3 separate regions of the Homo sapiens genome follow, and all the other regions are linked to region 1. Evidence: promoter capture Hi-C in 16 types of primary human blood cells and fetal thymus (Javierre and others, 2016). All regions are on one chromosome and are shown on one strand. The core of a region is centred on a gene start or on the middle of the fragment in contact, and the rest is flanking DNA. Distances in the headings are between cores, read along the strand shown. Region 1 holds the start of MTX3 (metaxin 3). Region 2 overlaps RASGRF2 (Ras protein specific guanine nucleotide releasing factor 2). Region 3 holds the start of ARSB (arylsulfatase B).

Region 1 (5,009 bases), core at 910-3,409:
TAATTTCTGAAGGCTTCAATTTTCTGTGTGGTTCTCTGGAACAGTATTCAGCCTGTTTGTGCAATCAGCTATGTTAGAGTTTTTTAAATTCAATCTAACAGATACAGACTCTCAAGAGGAACTGCAGCAATAAAAGATTGCTATTATCTATGCACTAATAAACCTGTGTGTAAGGATTCTTTCATCAGATGCAATGACATGCTATTCTGTCTCAATTCAACACTAAGGGAAGAGATTTAATTTCTCTTTAATGCAAATGAAATCACTGTATGTAGTAGCAGCAGTACGGAAGAAGGCCAAACTGAGTAACTGTGTTATGTGTCCACTAAGAATGTTCATTCACTCCTCTCAGTCCTGCTACAAACAAGGCTCAGGAAATCCACATTCTTTCTGTATGATTGTTTTAAATGCCTGAATGTAGTATATGGACCCTCAGCTTTATGGCTTAGGATTTTCTTTCCCCCTGCCTTGCCTTTGTCAGTCTATGGTTTGACATTTCTAACCCTCAAAACAGGGAGGTTCCATTACAATCTGAAAGTTGAATTACTTTACTTTCTTTATACTGAAGACTCAACAGATAGTCTCCACTGATCACACAGAGGATGCACTGTCCCTCCTTTGTGTTTCTGTAGTATTTTGCTTATATTTCTAACCCTACTCGTGATTATCTGACTTGTTACACCTTGGTGTGTGTATATCTCCTTTGTGCACTGTAAACTCCCGAGGACAGAATTCATGTTTTATATATTTCTGTATTGTTCCAGAACCTTATGATGTCTAAGACATAGGAGCTGCTCAATAAATGTTTCGACAGTTTTAATGGTACATATGTTATGCATTTTCCAATTATACAGTTATTATTAATGAATTCTCATTTCTGACATATCTCTTTTTCATTTCTTAGAACTCTTGGTTTTGAAACATGTAAAAAAGACTTTAGCAGGCTGGCACTGTAATTTGAATGATTATGTAAACAGTAAGGGAGTGCCTAGCAAATATTTGTTGAATAGTAATTTTACGAAAAGTTGCAGAGGTTTCTTTTGAGTTTTAGTTAAGAAGATCCGACCATCTCAGTGGAATAGAGGAAAGAACTCAGAGGCATGACTGCGAGGGTGTCCCAGAAAGACTACTGTGCCTTCTAGAAAAAAGACCCAGCACCCAAGTTCTAACTCTGAGACCCAGTCATATGTTTGGATCATAGCATTTCCAAGACCAAAATTTCCTCTTTAATAGTTTTTCTGAGAAACTGTCAGGTTTAACGTCAAGAAACATTTAGTCTGTGCTCATTAGGCCCACAGACATGACGAGCTACATGATTTGAGGGGCCCAGTCCAAAATAAAAATGCAGAGCCCCTTGTTCAAAACTTAAGAATTTCAAGACAGTGACGGAAGAGCATCAGCCAAATGAGGAGCCTTTTTAAGCACAGAGCCTTGTGTGGCTGCACAGGTCCCAAACCTATGAAGCTAGCCCTCTTCTGTGAAAGGCAAAAGGTCTGTAGCTAGGGAGAGAAGCTACAATTCAAATATGCACAAGGGGCTACAAGAACCCAGAGCTCCTAACTTTGTAAAAACATCACAGGGAAGGTGAGTTAAGCTCATTTTTGAGGGAGCAGCTGCATAGGGAAGAAAGATATTCCAGATTGAAGGACCAGCACTGAAGGTGGGCACAATTTACCTGACGTTCAGAAATACTGTAACTTTTAAGCAGGGTTGTGCCAGTGAACATGAGGGTGAGAACAGGTTGAGGCTGGAAAGGCAGGCAGAGGCCACATACATGGGAGAAGGGGTTGAACAATTACTGAGTGCCTCCTGTGTGCCAAGTTCTTTCTCTCCGACATTGTAAATACCACAATCTTGTAAATACTGGGTCATCCCTGTTTTACAAACAGGTTAATTTAGGCATCACACAGATTTAATGTTCAAAGGGTTTGGAACACTCTAGGGATCTAATAAATATTAATATTTGAAGAATTACTGGTGGGTCTGACTTAAGGCACACAACTCTTACCCTTTAGGCCAAGCTGCTCCTAAGAGTTCTTCTTAATCCCTCCAGTCGTTGTTTCTCTCATCTCTCAAGAGCCCCCAAATTACCCTTCCCTCCCTTAGCCACGCCCCCGCGTTTCACGTGCCGGAAATTAGGAGGAAAAGTACTTCCGGGATAGTAAAGGTCGGCCCGCGCAAGATGGCGGCCCCCTTGGAACTCAGTTGCTGGGGAGGCGGCTGGGGACTCCCATCGGTTCACAGCGAGTCCCTGGTGGTGATGGTGAGGCCGCCTCGCGGGCCAGGGCGCAGGAGGAAGGGGCGGGGCTGGAGGCGCCAGGCTGACTTGCCCCAGTTTCCCGCTGCGCTGCGGGGTCCAGGAGGGCCGAGCCGCTGCACGCTGCATTGCCCTGGGCTCCCTCCCACCGACGAGTCCCAACCTGGCCGATACCCCCGCCGAAGGCCGGCGGCGACATCAAGGCTTCTCCGCTTGGCTCCGAGTTTTGTCCGCCTCACAAAGCTGTCTGGGCGGTGGAGTGAAACCCCGAAGCAAGGGGCGCGCCCTCCCTACTCTGCATCCCCAGGACCTTTTGGGGAGCAAAGTCCTCGAAAGCCGGGTGGCTGGCGCCCGCGTCCCTACTTGAGATCACGGGGAGGGATGCGGCCTCAGTATCAGTCGCCTTCTGCCTTTGGGGGATGGGGCTGTGAAGTAAAGCTGCTCTGCAGCTTTGCATTACGCACTTGGTCTAAAATGTTTGATTGCAAACTCTGTTTCAGGCTTATGCCAAATTTTCTGGTGCACCCTTGAAAGTCAATGTGATAGATAACACCTGGAGAGGTTCAAGAGGTATAGTGTAAACCTTTACACTCCCCTTTCTGCACTCTTTTTTTTCTTCTTCCATTTAAAGCTGTGAGGTATATAGCTATAATATTGAGGATTTAGTTTCTTACCGTGACCTTGGCTCTGTGTTGTTTATGGTTTGATCATTCTGAGTAATACCTCAAAGTGCAAGCGAAATCACTGGAAATTATGAGAAACGAAAATGTTCTTTAGAACCGCTCTTTGTGAAACAGCAAAAAAACCAAGACAAGCTTACTCATTTTTTCCCCTCTAAATGTGCAACTGCTATAGTTTTTAGGATATTGGAATCTCTCAGAGGAAATCACACTGTGTCCTTGTATGTAAACTGTTTTTTGATTATAGGCGATGTACCAATTTTGACAACTGAAGACGACATGGTTTCTCAGCCAGCAAAAATACTAAACTTTTTAAGAAAACAGGTGGGTGGTTCACTTTGAAGAAGTAGATTGGTAGATTGTTGATCCCTGCATGTTGGGCTTTATTTTATTTATTTATTTTTTTTTGCCAACTCATTAGACAATTGGAGATACCTGGGACAAGATGTAAAAATAGATTTGAGAATCACTGCTCTAAAGCATGAGTTCTGTGATTTGAAAGTCATATGAAGAGGTAGTCAGTTTATATTTTAATAAACTTTGCTTGAATTTTATTGAAATTTGTATGTAAGTAGATTTAATTAGCCATTTTCACTATTAAACTTATTGATAGGATTGTGTATTTTGTCACATAGTTGGTACACATTTTGTGCTGGGCATGACACCTGAGCTCTCACCAACTAGCAACTATATTATTTTTAAAAAGCTCTTAATAGCAGTTTTATGGAATAATGTATCTAAATGTTTTAACAGTAGAGAATTATGTATCCAAAATGTTTAAACATGTAAAGATTTATATGAATGGATAAGTTATTTGTTTTGCCAATACTGTACTTAAAAAAATTGTGTCAATAACATTTTGAACTTTTATAAATTGGAAGGTTTTTTCTTTTGTCTTGGGGAGAAACACAGCCAATTGGAACTGTTTCCTTCTTGTTAAAAATAATAGTTGCTTTGTTTGTACTACATGCCATGCACTGAACTAGGTCATTAACAAGCATGAAAATAATAGTAGTTAATATTGTAACATTTATTGACCATATTGTGTATGTGATGCTGTGCTAAGAACTTTATGTGCATTAAGCAATAGGTTTCACTGGATTTGTATTTCTCTTTCTCCCATTTTAATACCACGTTTGCTATTTGTAAGGAAAAATATGAATCCTGATTTGATTAGTTTTACTGTCTTTGGGCTGCTCTTTGACTTCTGAGTTTCTTTGGTTTATTTTTTTTTAATAGAAATATAATGCTGATTATGAACTCTCAGCAAAACAAGGGGCAGATACATTGGCTTATATTGCTCTCCTCGAAGAGAAGCTTCTCCCTGCAGTGGTGAGTGTTCTTAAATATTACAGTATTTTAGTAGCCTAGTTGCAAATGTACATAGTCTGTTTAGAAAAAAACCAATGAGAAAAGTCTTAAGAGAAAATTTTACTTATATGTTAATCTTAATTCCTTCATATTACTGTGAAACTGGATTCTGTTAGGCATTCAACTAGTATGTGAAACAACAAAGTAAAATAAAATGTCATGTTGGAAATTCTTTGTGGGAGATGGATCTTTTTGCTCCATGTATAGAATTGGGTGTAATTCATTCATTCAACAAATGTTTATTGAACACCTGCTATGTGTCAGGCCTTGTTCTGGGTGTTTGGAAGATAGCAGTCAACAAAACTCACACATTTAAAATAATCTTGTTTTATCCTGAGTCATTCTAACTGGAAAATTTGTATGAAGACACTTCATATAAAGATATTTATGAAAAACTCTCATGTTGATTGAGTGATCTTTCATTTAATAAAAGAACATCCTTGTAGTGTTTTTTCTCTTCTTTTGCAGCTTCACACATTCTGGGTTGAGAGTGACAATTACTTTACTGTGACAAAGCCATGGTTTGCTTCACAAATTCCTTTTCCTTTGAGTTTGATCCTGCCTGGAAGAATGTCTAAGGGAGCACTGAATAGGATTCTCCTGACCAGAGGACAGCCTCCCCTCTACCACCTCCGAGAAGTGGAAGCACAGGTATAGTATGGATTATTCTTCAAGCAAGGGCCCTAGAGAGAAAGGACAAG
Region 2 (5,009 bases), core at 1,304-3,803, 1.0 Mb before region 1:
ACCACACTCTTCTCATACATAACAAATAATTCAGTTCTGTGCCTTACACATTTGGCCTTTTTTCATTGTAAAAATACAAGCCAAATACCATGGCTTCTGTCCACCATCTATGCACATTATTTCCCTCTTAAGAAAAAGTTTGAGTTTTTCGTCCGTGAAAATAATACACATATATAAATACGGAAAATACAGAGAGGCAAAATTAGAGAGGAAAATTCATTCATAATCCTACCATCATCCAAAGACAACCACTGTTAAATCTTGATGTATAGCTCTCAAATCTATTTTCTTTTTCTTTTTTTTTTTTTGAGATGAAATCTCACTCTGTCACTCAGGCTGGAGTACAGTGGCACGATCTCAGCTCACTGCAACCTACCTCCAGGATTCAAGCAATTCTCCTGCCTCAGCTTCCCGAGTAGCTGGAACTACAGGCACCCAACCCCATGCCCGGCTAATTTTTGCATTTTCATAGAAACGAGGTTTCACCATATTGGCCAGGCTGCTCTCGAACTCCTGACCTTGTGATCCGCCCGCCTCTGCCTCCCAAAGTGCTGGGATTACAGGTGTGAGCCACCGCACCCGGCCTCTCCAATCTATTTTCTAAAACCATTTTAATACAGTCATGCTCATGCTGCATATGCAATGCTATTCCAGCATAGTTTTCAGGTCACATGATAACTTAAGAATTTTTCCATATTACTTAAAACTGTAGTAAACGTTTATAAAGTGTACATAATGTTACACAGAAATGATATACTACTTAAATATTTACTTAAATTACATTTGCCTATTTTAACATTTGGAAGGTTTTTAATTATTCCTTATAAATCTTGGTATATACAATTTTTTATTTGACTTTTGGGTTACTCCATTGGTGGAGATTCTCAAGAACAGATGAAAGACATGAATAACTTGGTTTATGGAAGTTTGTTTTTAGACTTGCTTTAGGGATATTTGCTCCTCATGTTTGCCAAGTCTGATGTGATGCTCCATCTGACAGACATGATAATAAGCTACTGAACAACACTCACATCACAATTTTAGCGACTGAGTGGCCCCATATGTGATGCTATATCTGGACATTCTAGGCAGTTGATGGCTCCTACCCTCTAGAAGCTTACATCTGCTCTCAGGGTATAAGGGAAGTTCACTAACCTGGGCAGTATATGATGATATTCATTAACTGCCTATCTAGGCATGAAAATGGTTACATATCCACTCAGTGCTTAATATATGGCAGGCATTGTTCTGAGATCCATCCTGCATTTTCTCATCGAGTTCTCGTCATGAGCCCATAATTTATTCCCCTTTTACAGATGAGGAAACAGGCTGAAAGAGGCAGGACAATCACCCACAACCCATCAGGGCATGTGCTCTCAGCTGCAGGCCCAGGGGTAGTAGTGGACTCCCACTGGTCTGCCACACTCTGTTGTGAGTCTCTGTTGTGAAAGCTATCTATGTGGCAAAGCCAACCAGATCATGAGTCCAAAACCCAGGACTCTGACTTGAAGTTCTACTTGCTGAGACAATCAACCACAAAAGGATGGATCACACGGAAAGGAAGAAATAGATGGGCTGGAGCCTGTATAGATAAGAAGTATGTCCAGAAAATAAATTTCCAAAAAATCATCAAGTCTACAAAATTCTATTCTGCCCTTGAATTTTATAATGGTTCTAGATGCCACCCTAGCCATTTCTGTTCTCATTTCTAATATTAAATCAGCAGCCTAAGAGACAGGAGGTGCTACAAAAGGGAGAGGAAGGAGGGAGGGAAGAAGAGAAGGAAGAGGGGAGGAATCCATTTTATCCATTATTTTATCAACCATCTTATTTTTGAAAGTGTCATGCTGGTATGTATTTTATAGACACACATATACTGATCTTAAGAAGATTACAGTTTAGCTGAAAAGCTAAATTAGGCACTCATAAAGCAATTAAATAACATTATAAGATTAAGTAACAGTGCAAGATGTGTCAAAGTGCTAAAATAAGCTGTATGAAAACTGAAACCAGCCAGGCACGGTGGCTCATGCCTGTAATCCCAGCACTTTGGGAGGCTGAAGCAGGTGGATCACTGGAGGTCACGAGTTTGAGACCAGCCTGACCAACAGGGTGAAACCTCGTCTCTATTAAAAATACAAAAATTAGCCGGGCGTGGTGACACATGCCTGTAATCCCAGCTACTGGGGAGGCTGAGGCAGGAGAATTGCTTGAACCCGGGAGGAGGAGGTTGCAGTGAGCCGAGATTGTGCCACTGCACTCCAGCCTGGGCGAAGAAGCGAGACTCTGTCTCAAAAAAAAAAAAAAAAAAAAAAAAAAAAAGGAAAGAAAGAAAGAAAAAGAAAACTGAAACCATCATCATCCACTTTTTCCAATTACTACACATTTGAGATAGCTGGTTCTGTAAATCAGACGAGACAGTGCAATTTTGGCCTATCAGAAAGTGTTTACCATAGATGAAGACAATAAATACTATTGCTGGATGGTCCTGGGAAGCTGAGGGTATTGGAACCCTTCCATAACTGCCATGGCCAAGGGATGAGGATGCTTCCATTGCTTTTCCTGTTCACGTCTCTCTCTTCAGTTCACCCCCTCCCAAATGAGAAGCTGCATCGGATCTGCTTGCTCAGCATTTTGCATTTACTAGGTGACTCCTCCATGGATGAGGTCACTCCTTTGAAGAACAATACATGGTTATCCTTCTGTCTCAGTTGCACCTGCGATTAGGTGAGCAAGTCAAGCAGTTATCGTGGAGGGGCAGCTGATCTGAATAGTTCACTTTCCTCGTCCTAAATCAGCCTTCAATATTTACCATAAATGCAAGGACCACCCTGAGAAAGTTGAGTTTGTTGGCGTGAATTTTTCTTAATGGAAAAAAGAAAGCGAGGGAGTATATGGCCAACTAACCCTCACCATGAAGGAAAAAATGACATCCCGGGGCAGCTGACAATAGGGCTCTCTAAACACTTGGTGCCAGTGTGGAGGTGTTCTGGCCTCAAGGCAGCTCCAGGGAGAGGGTCCCTGGGAAAGAATGAACCCCTTCCTCAGGGCAGAAGAGCCTGCTTCACTGCACAGAGTGGTCTCTCAGGAGCTAGAAAAGTTAATGAAGTTGCTGAGCTTGAAAACCAGAAAGTAGGCAAAAAGAAAAACAAGTTCAACCTTCCTCCAACACAGGAAATAATTTGAAACCACAATCAGAAACTTTTTGAGCATTATGAAAGTGTAGAGGCCAAGGGAAAACTCCTCCCCTTCACCTTCTGCAGGTTTCCTGAAAGCTACACCCCCTCCCGAATGAGAAGCCACATCTAACAAAAGGAAGGTTAACAGGAGAAGAGGCATATACACATTTATAAATGTGTACGGAGGCAGGCGGATCACACAGTGATTACTCCACCACGCAATGAGGTACAGATGGTTAATGGTTATATACCCTTCTGAGGAGAAAGGGAGATGGGGAAGTGAGGCTTATTTTAGGGGGTTAGTAAACCATTTTTAGGAGAATGCCATGGACTCGAGGAACATACAATGGCCTGGGACAATGTCTCGTGGGCCCGCAGAACAGACAATGGTTTGTGACAAGTCTATAAAAGTGTGTTGATGGACTTGGAATCTTTCTTTCTGAGACATGTGTTCAGTTAATGAAAACTCAGGAAAGTGACCAGAAGTAATTGTTTTCTTCTTCAGCAGGTCTGGACTTTAGGCAGATAAGGGAACTTCAGAGAACAATTTTATCCTGTGCTTTGGGGCAGACGGAGAAGTGGGGAAAGGGGGATCCGAGAGGTCTCAAGGCTCCTTCCTCGGTTCAGCATGTCAAAGCACCATAGTTCGGGGCATCAGCTTCTGAACCCCAGCAAAGGGAATAAGCATTTTGATGGCTTCTAAATCACCAAAACACAGGAGGAAGAAGTGGGTTAGCTGCTCTGGGGTATGGAACTATTAGATTCTGACACACTTACAGCCTTATCTCTGCCTACTACATATGAAGCTTTCTACTGACTATTCTAGAAGGTAACATACTTTCAGAAACACCTTTGCACTTTCAAAACTATCATGGCTTTACCAAAACCACTTAACTCAAAAGACTTTTCACTTTCAAAGGTCCTTCAACCAAAGTTAGAAGCATATTAAGTGAAATCAAGACCAGTCTGAAGGGCAATCAAAACAGGATCCCCATAGAAAACTGTGCATTGAGCATGACTACAGCCCAATAAACAACTAAACAACCTAAAGGGGCAAATTCGACAGGAAATACACCGAAATATTAAAGTAGATGTCCTTGGGTAATACAAATTTGAGTAAGGTTGGTTCTATAGCCATACAATTTTTAAAGATTTATTTTTATTAAAAACACAAAACTTAATTAAATAAATAAATATTAAAGTCCAAGTTGTTTGAAATATTTCCCTTCATATCTTGAAAGCCTTTCAATCTCACTCAGGAAAACGTTTGAACTTGGAACATTTGAACTTGGAAGCGACCTTAAAGATTGTCCGATAAAACTACTTCATTCTACAGCTGAGGAAACAGAGTGAACTTCCAAACACATGGCCAGTCAGGCGCTGACCTGGAACTCTAATCAGCAATTCCTACCTCTGACTTAATGCCCTCTCTATCACAGACAGAGCCCACCTCACCAAGGAATACTCCCCTTCAATCTTCCAGATAGAAAGGAAAAAAAGTACTGCAAAATATGTCTCTCCACTCTTCAGTATGTACCCAAAAGAAATAAAATATATGTCTACTCAAAAATGTCTACACGAATGTTCACAGCAGCACTATTCATAGAAGTCAAATAGCAGAAACTACCCAAAAGTCCATCAGCTGAGGAATGGATAAACAAAATGTGGTATATCCATACAATGGGATTTTTTTTCTCCATGAAAAGGAGTGAAATACAAATATGCTACAATATGAATAAATCTTAAAAACACTGACTGATATGGTTTGGCTGTGCCCCCCACCCAAATCGTATCTTGAATTGCAGTTCCCATAATCCCCATGTGTTGTGG
Region 3 (5,009 bases), core at 1,409-3,908, 1.0 Mb after region 1:
CTCAAAGATTCAAGAGGACATGCCAAAAGGATATGAGCCAGATTGTAGGGGCTCCCACTGGCCAAAACAGAGAAAATTTGAGCATTGAAATAACTATAGCAAAGGATTATAGCATATTGATTAAAACAAGAATTCATGAATTCATAGTGAAATAAATAAATGAGAAGGGAAAGTTCTTCCTTACAGTAGAAAGGCAACTCATAAATATAGAGGAAATGAAGGAATTAGAAAATCAGCATTTGGTAGCCATCCTAATTATAACTAATTGAAGCAAGAAGCAAGATACTAAAACTGGTAAGCAAAATAATGTGTGTGAGGCATAATAGGATATTTACATATTCTCAAATTATCTCTCCATAAAATATTTATTAATTACAAGAAGAAAATATTAACCTTACAATGAGGAAATGTTTACCTTAACAAAGTTATCCCATAAGAAAGCAATTCAGCATCATGTGCCTCTTAATAGGAAGCACCGAGAAACATACCACATCACTTTTTGTGGTATTCCTGCACAAATCCATAACCTCTATCTAATTGTGAAGAAACATCAAACTCCAATTGAGAGATTTTATAAAATAACTAGCTTGTACTGCACATTATGTGTTCAATACATAGATGGAAAATAGAATTAACTCTTCAATTTGCACATTTCCAGAGCACTATTAACATATGCTTTTATTTTAAAAACATAGGACGTAAGAATCTGTGCAAGTTTAGCTAGTTTCAGGGGAAGTTGGTTAAAGGAGGAATTGTTCCTGCAGATTAGCACCCATCAATTATTTCTTCTTAATTTTTATCAAGGAGAATAGGAAGGATTACGGGGGAGAAAGACACAAAACCACAGCGGAAATTCTCAGTCCTTCAAGGTCTTCTACAGGGTGTTTAAATGAAAAGTTCAACCCTTGACATAATGAGTCAAACAGTTCTCTCAAAAGTTATTCTTTGAATTTAATGCTAAAATTTTCACTTTTTTCTGCTAAATTTCATTGATTCCACTAGAGATTAAAGTGCATACAACATAAACTAATCTACTTCATGCAAAGAAAAAAAGTGTATGTAAGAGGCAAACATTTCATGTGTTAAAGGATTCTTGGGGAAAAAAAGGTAAAATCATGACCCTCATACAAATATAAAAGTGAATACATGATTTTATTTAACTCATTAATAAGGAAATTGGTAAGGTGTTAAAACCAATTCAAAGGACAATCCAAAGAACAGATCAGGAATACTAAAATAAATATGCAAGCGGAGGTGAAACTGTTTTCCTTGGTAGTGGTGGAGGGGAAGGATTGCTACTCCGCTGGATAAAGTTCATTTGTGTATATATAAATAAGAATTATTTTCCATTGTTATTTATCTATAACTTATAAAGTTGTAAACAACTTCCACGGAATCAGACTCAACCTGGAAGGGTATGGTCTCTAGGCAATGCAAAAATTTTCCCCTACACCTGTTAACAACTATAATATCTCCAGACAGAGTAGACAGAAAGTCTGGATGGCAACGGGAATCTACTGGTCATACGGCTAACTTCCTAATTCAATAAGCACGTGACTAAAGGATTTTTTCCTTCCACTCAGATATTTCAGGCTAACTAGATACTGTGTGCTTCTTAGTGTCACTGCTTAGTGGGGGAGCCAGCTCTGAGTGGGGTCATATCCGGACAAGCGAATGAGCTATTTATTCAATGACCACGCAACACTCCAAATCCTCCCAGGGCAACTTGAAAGTAACCGCACCTTCCAAAGGGCACCGTGCAATCAGACTGTGTGTTTGGCCTCCTGTTTGCTAGTGGGGAGGAAGCGGCTTCATGGGTGTACACTACGCATAAATGAATGTGAAAGGCTATTTAGACCTCTGCCTTTTCACCGTCCTCCCACCTGCCACAGGCTGGGCTCTTGTGCTAGAAATGACTTGCTAGCTAGACATCATGGTTCAGGATCTGAGTCAGAGGTTTAACCATTTATAAGCTTTTTTCTTATGAAAAATTGGCACTAATTATAATGTCTAACTGTCAGAGTTGTTGCAGGCTTTACAGGAGACGCGGGCTGTGAAGATGCTTTGTAAATTGTGAAGCGTTATTAAAGAACACATCTTTTTTTTTTAGGAAACCACAGTGCAAATTTAATTGCCGGGGAAGATAACGGGCCTTGGTGCCCTCCAAGCGTCAGCTGAGTTTCCAAGAAGCCGGGCAGCGGGCGCCCGCGGGTTCGTCTCTGGCTCCTCCTCCGCCACAGCAGCCGGGGGCCCGGGTCGGAGGCGGCGGGGGCCGAGCGCCCGGCCTCGCAAGCCCACGGCCCGCTGGGGGTGCCGTCCCGCGCCGGGGCGGAGCAGGCCCCGGCAGCCCAGTTCCTCATTCTATCAGCGGTACAAGGGGCTGGTGGCGCCACAGGCGCTGGGACCGCGGGCGGACAAGGATGGGTCCGCGCGGCGCGGCGAGCTTGCCCCGAGGCCCCGGACCTCGGCGGCTGCTCCTCCCCGTCGTCCTCCCGCTGCTGCTGCTGCTGTTGTTGGCGCCGCCGGGCTCGGGCGCCGGGGCCAGCCGGCCGCCCCACCTGGTCTTCTTGCTGGCAGACGACCTAGGCTGGAACGACGTCGGCTTCCACGGCTCCCGCATCCGCACGCCGCACCTGGACGCGCTGGCGGCCGGCGGGGTGCTCCTGGACAACTACTACACGCAGCCGCTGTGCACGCCGTCGCGGAGCCAGCTGCTCACTGGCCGCTACCAGGTACGCGGCGCCCCCGCCGCCCGCGCCGCCCCCGCCCCGCCTTTCGCCGGCGCCCTGCCGCTCCTACCCGGCCCTTGAGGCCGCGGGCGCTGGCAGGCGGGGCTCGGACCGCCGACCCAGTTATGGGTCCCGGCGGCTTCTCGCCCCAACCTCGCTCTTCCAGGCCGGCAGCCCGCCGCGGCCTCTGCGCATGCCCGGCTCTGGCGCCCCGCGGACCCGCGCCCCGGCCGCCGGGTTGGGCGGGTGGCTTTGTCTTTCGTTTTCTGAAGCTCCGGGCGAAGGGGTTTATGGGAATGCCGGGTGCTGGGCGCCGCGGCCGGCAGGCGGAGCGGTCCTGAGGTGGGAGGCTGGGGAGGGCGTGGGCTGGGAGCAAAGACGAGGGGAGAGGTAAAATGAAGGGGTGCTCGCCGTGGGTGCGACCCTGGCCCGTGGGAACCCAGCGGTGATAGGTTAGGAGTGTCCCACCAAAGATTATTTTTTTCCAGGTTCTCAACACCCCTGGAATGAAACCTGATGCTAGGTTGATTTTTCTTAGGCTGCTGACATTCCTTTCACATGTAACCTTGTATTGAACTCTTCTGAGCATCTTCATTATCGCTTTAAAAGCTTCCCTTTAGGAACGGCTCCACAGTTAACGAAGGAAATATAAATGTAGAGCGTGCATAGATGTTAGATGGCTAAGAATATCAAGAACATTTGCATAGCACTTTGTTGTTTTTAAAGTGAATTATTGAAACAGTGCATGAGGTAGTTGTTTTTACCCCGTTTTACAGACGAGGCAGGAAGCCTGTAAAGGCTCGTTGGCATAAGAATCGCACAGCTAGAAAGTGGTCAAGGCAGTGTCCGTTGTGCTTTTCCTGCATCCACTGGTCGTCCCGGGCTTATGAAATTGGCCTTTTTTCCCCTCAATCTGAATACGATTGTCATATTTCTAAGACCCTGAAGTTATTATGACCATATTAAATACAGTAAATGGGAACTGTTGGATACCACCTGCATGCCTTCACAGAGTACATATGCTGTTTACTCAACAAAAATATTTTGAGCTTACTGTGCTACTGACAGGGGATATATATTTGAATGTTGCCCTCCCAAGTGTGTGTTCGCATAACCTGTCAGATCAACCCTAGCCTCACGTGGTCCTAAGATCAAGAGAAGGGAGGGCTTACTTGTGATAAAGATATGCGCAGTGGTCTGAAGGCTTTTATAAAGAGGAAAGATTGGGTGTTGCTAAGGGTGAGAAATAGCTGTAGCCAAGGTTAGAAATGGGAGTAAAGGATGCTTCCCTTCACCATCCACCTTAGTACTTTTGGCGGTTCTGACCTTGGCTGCTACGTGTAATTAGGAATCCCCTACATTGTGTAAATCTCACCCTGGACACTTTGTGGGAGTAAAGGGATGTGCCAGTAAAGAAGAAGAAGAAGGGAAAGGTGAGGTTTGCCCAAAGGGTTCTGCATTTGCTTTGAAGTAAGAGAACTGAACTCAGATTGCAAAAGAATGGAAGGGCCATTCATTTCTCCAACTTCCTCCCTTCCAACAGAGTTGGACAGGAAAGCAAATACCAACTTCAGAAACCCATTCCTGGGCCGGGAACGGTGGCTCACGCCTGTAATCCCAGCACTTTGGAGGCTGAGGCAGGTGGATCACCTGAGGTCAGGAGTTCGAGACCAGCCTGACCAACACGGCGAAACCCCGTCTCTACTAAAACTACAAAAATTAGCCGAGTGTGGTGGCATGCGTCTATAGTCCTAGCTACTCGGGAGACTGAGTCAGGAGAATCGCTTGAACTCGGGAGGCAGAGGTTGCAGTGAGCCGAGATCGCACCACTGCACTCCAGCCTGGGCGACAGAGCAAGACTCCATCTCAAAACAAAATAAAATAAAAAACCCATTCCCGTAATCAGTTGCTTTTGTCCCCTAACATCCTCCCCCACCAGTCACCAAAATTATGTCTTGGAGAACAAACTTTAGTATTTAGAGTACCCCATGGTTATGAAGTAAAGGATGAGTAGAGAAGCTGGGCACTCTGAAAGGTTTAGAGGCCTCTCAGTGTAGCTGATTCTAAAGCAGCCTTGCTTCCCCAAACATTTTTTTTCCTCCAGTTTTCTCACCCACTTTATTCTCTTAGAGTTCATGAGACCCAAGTAGATGTTACCCAGGGTGAGCAAGTGTCCACTTTTAATGAAGTAGAAATTTCAGGGAAGGCTCAGGAGTCTCCGTCAGATACTATATGCTGGTATTGTTCTGAGCACTTACAAGTGTTAACTCATTTGATTCT

What was found. Contacts are between HindIII fragments. The CHiCAGO score rates a contact against its expected background, and 5 or more counts as called.
Region 2: a contact is called between a fragment that was not itself captured here and the fragment with the promoter of MTX3 in region 1, in 1 of 17 cell types (activated CD4 T cells). The highest score is 7.7, in activated CD4 T cells.
Region 3: a contact is called between a fragment that was not itself captured here and the fragment with the promoter of MTX3 in region 1, in 1 of 17 cell types (activated CD4 T cells). The highest score is 6.8, in activated CD4 T cells.

What each region holds. Positions count from the first base shown.
Region 1 is chr5:79,988,412-79,993,420 of GRCh38, reverse strand. MTX3 (metaxin 3) reads left to right here and starts at 2,159. Exons shown (of 9, transcript NM_001363818.2): 1 at 2,159-2,263; 2 at 2,758-2,827; 3 at 3,185-3,261; 4 at 4,177-4,269; 5 at 4,777-4,959. The coding sequence starts at 2,183. It also overlaps a transcript of THBS4 not described here. RefSeq lists an enhancer at 2,492-2,661. The HindIII fragment of the contact is 4,262 bases long and covers 1-3,074 here.
Region 2 is chr5:81,005,453-81,010,461 of GRCh38, reverse strand. All of the region lies in intron 1 of RASGRF2 (Ras protein specific guanine nucleotide releasing factor 2), which reads right to left. Among named protein-coding and RNA genes, the nearest start is that of RASGRF2-AS1, 47 kb to the right of the region's middle. The HindIII fragment of the contact is 2,869 bases long and covers 1,119-3,987 here.
Region 3 is chr5:78,982,660-78,987,668 of GRCh38, reverse strand. It overlaps ARSB (arylsulfatase B), which reads left to right and starts at 2,359. Exons shown (of 8, transcript NM_000046.5): 1 at 2,359-2,732. The coding sequence starts at 2,421. RefSeq lists a silencer at 2,177-3,036. The HindIII fragment of the contact is 1,365 bases long and covers 1,976-3,340 here.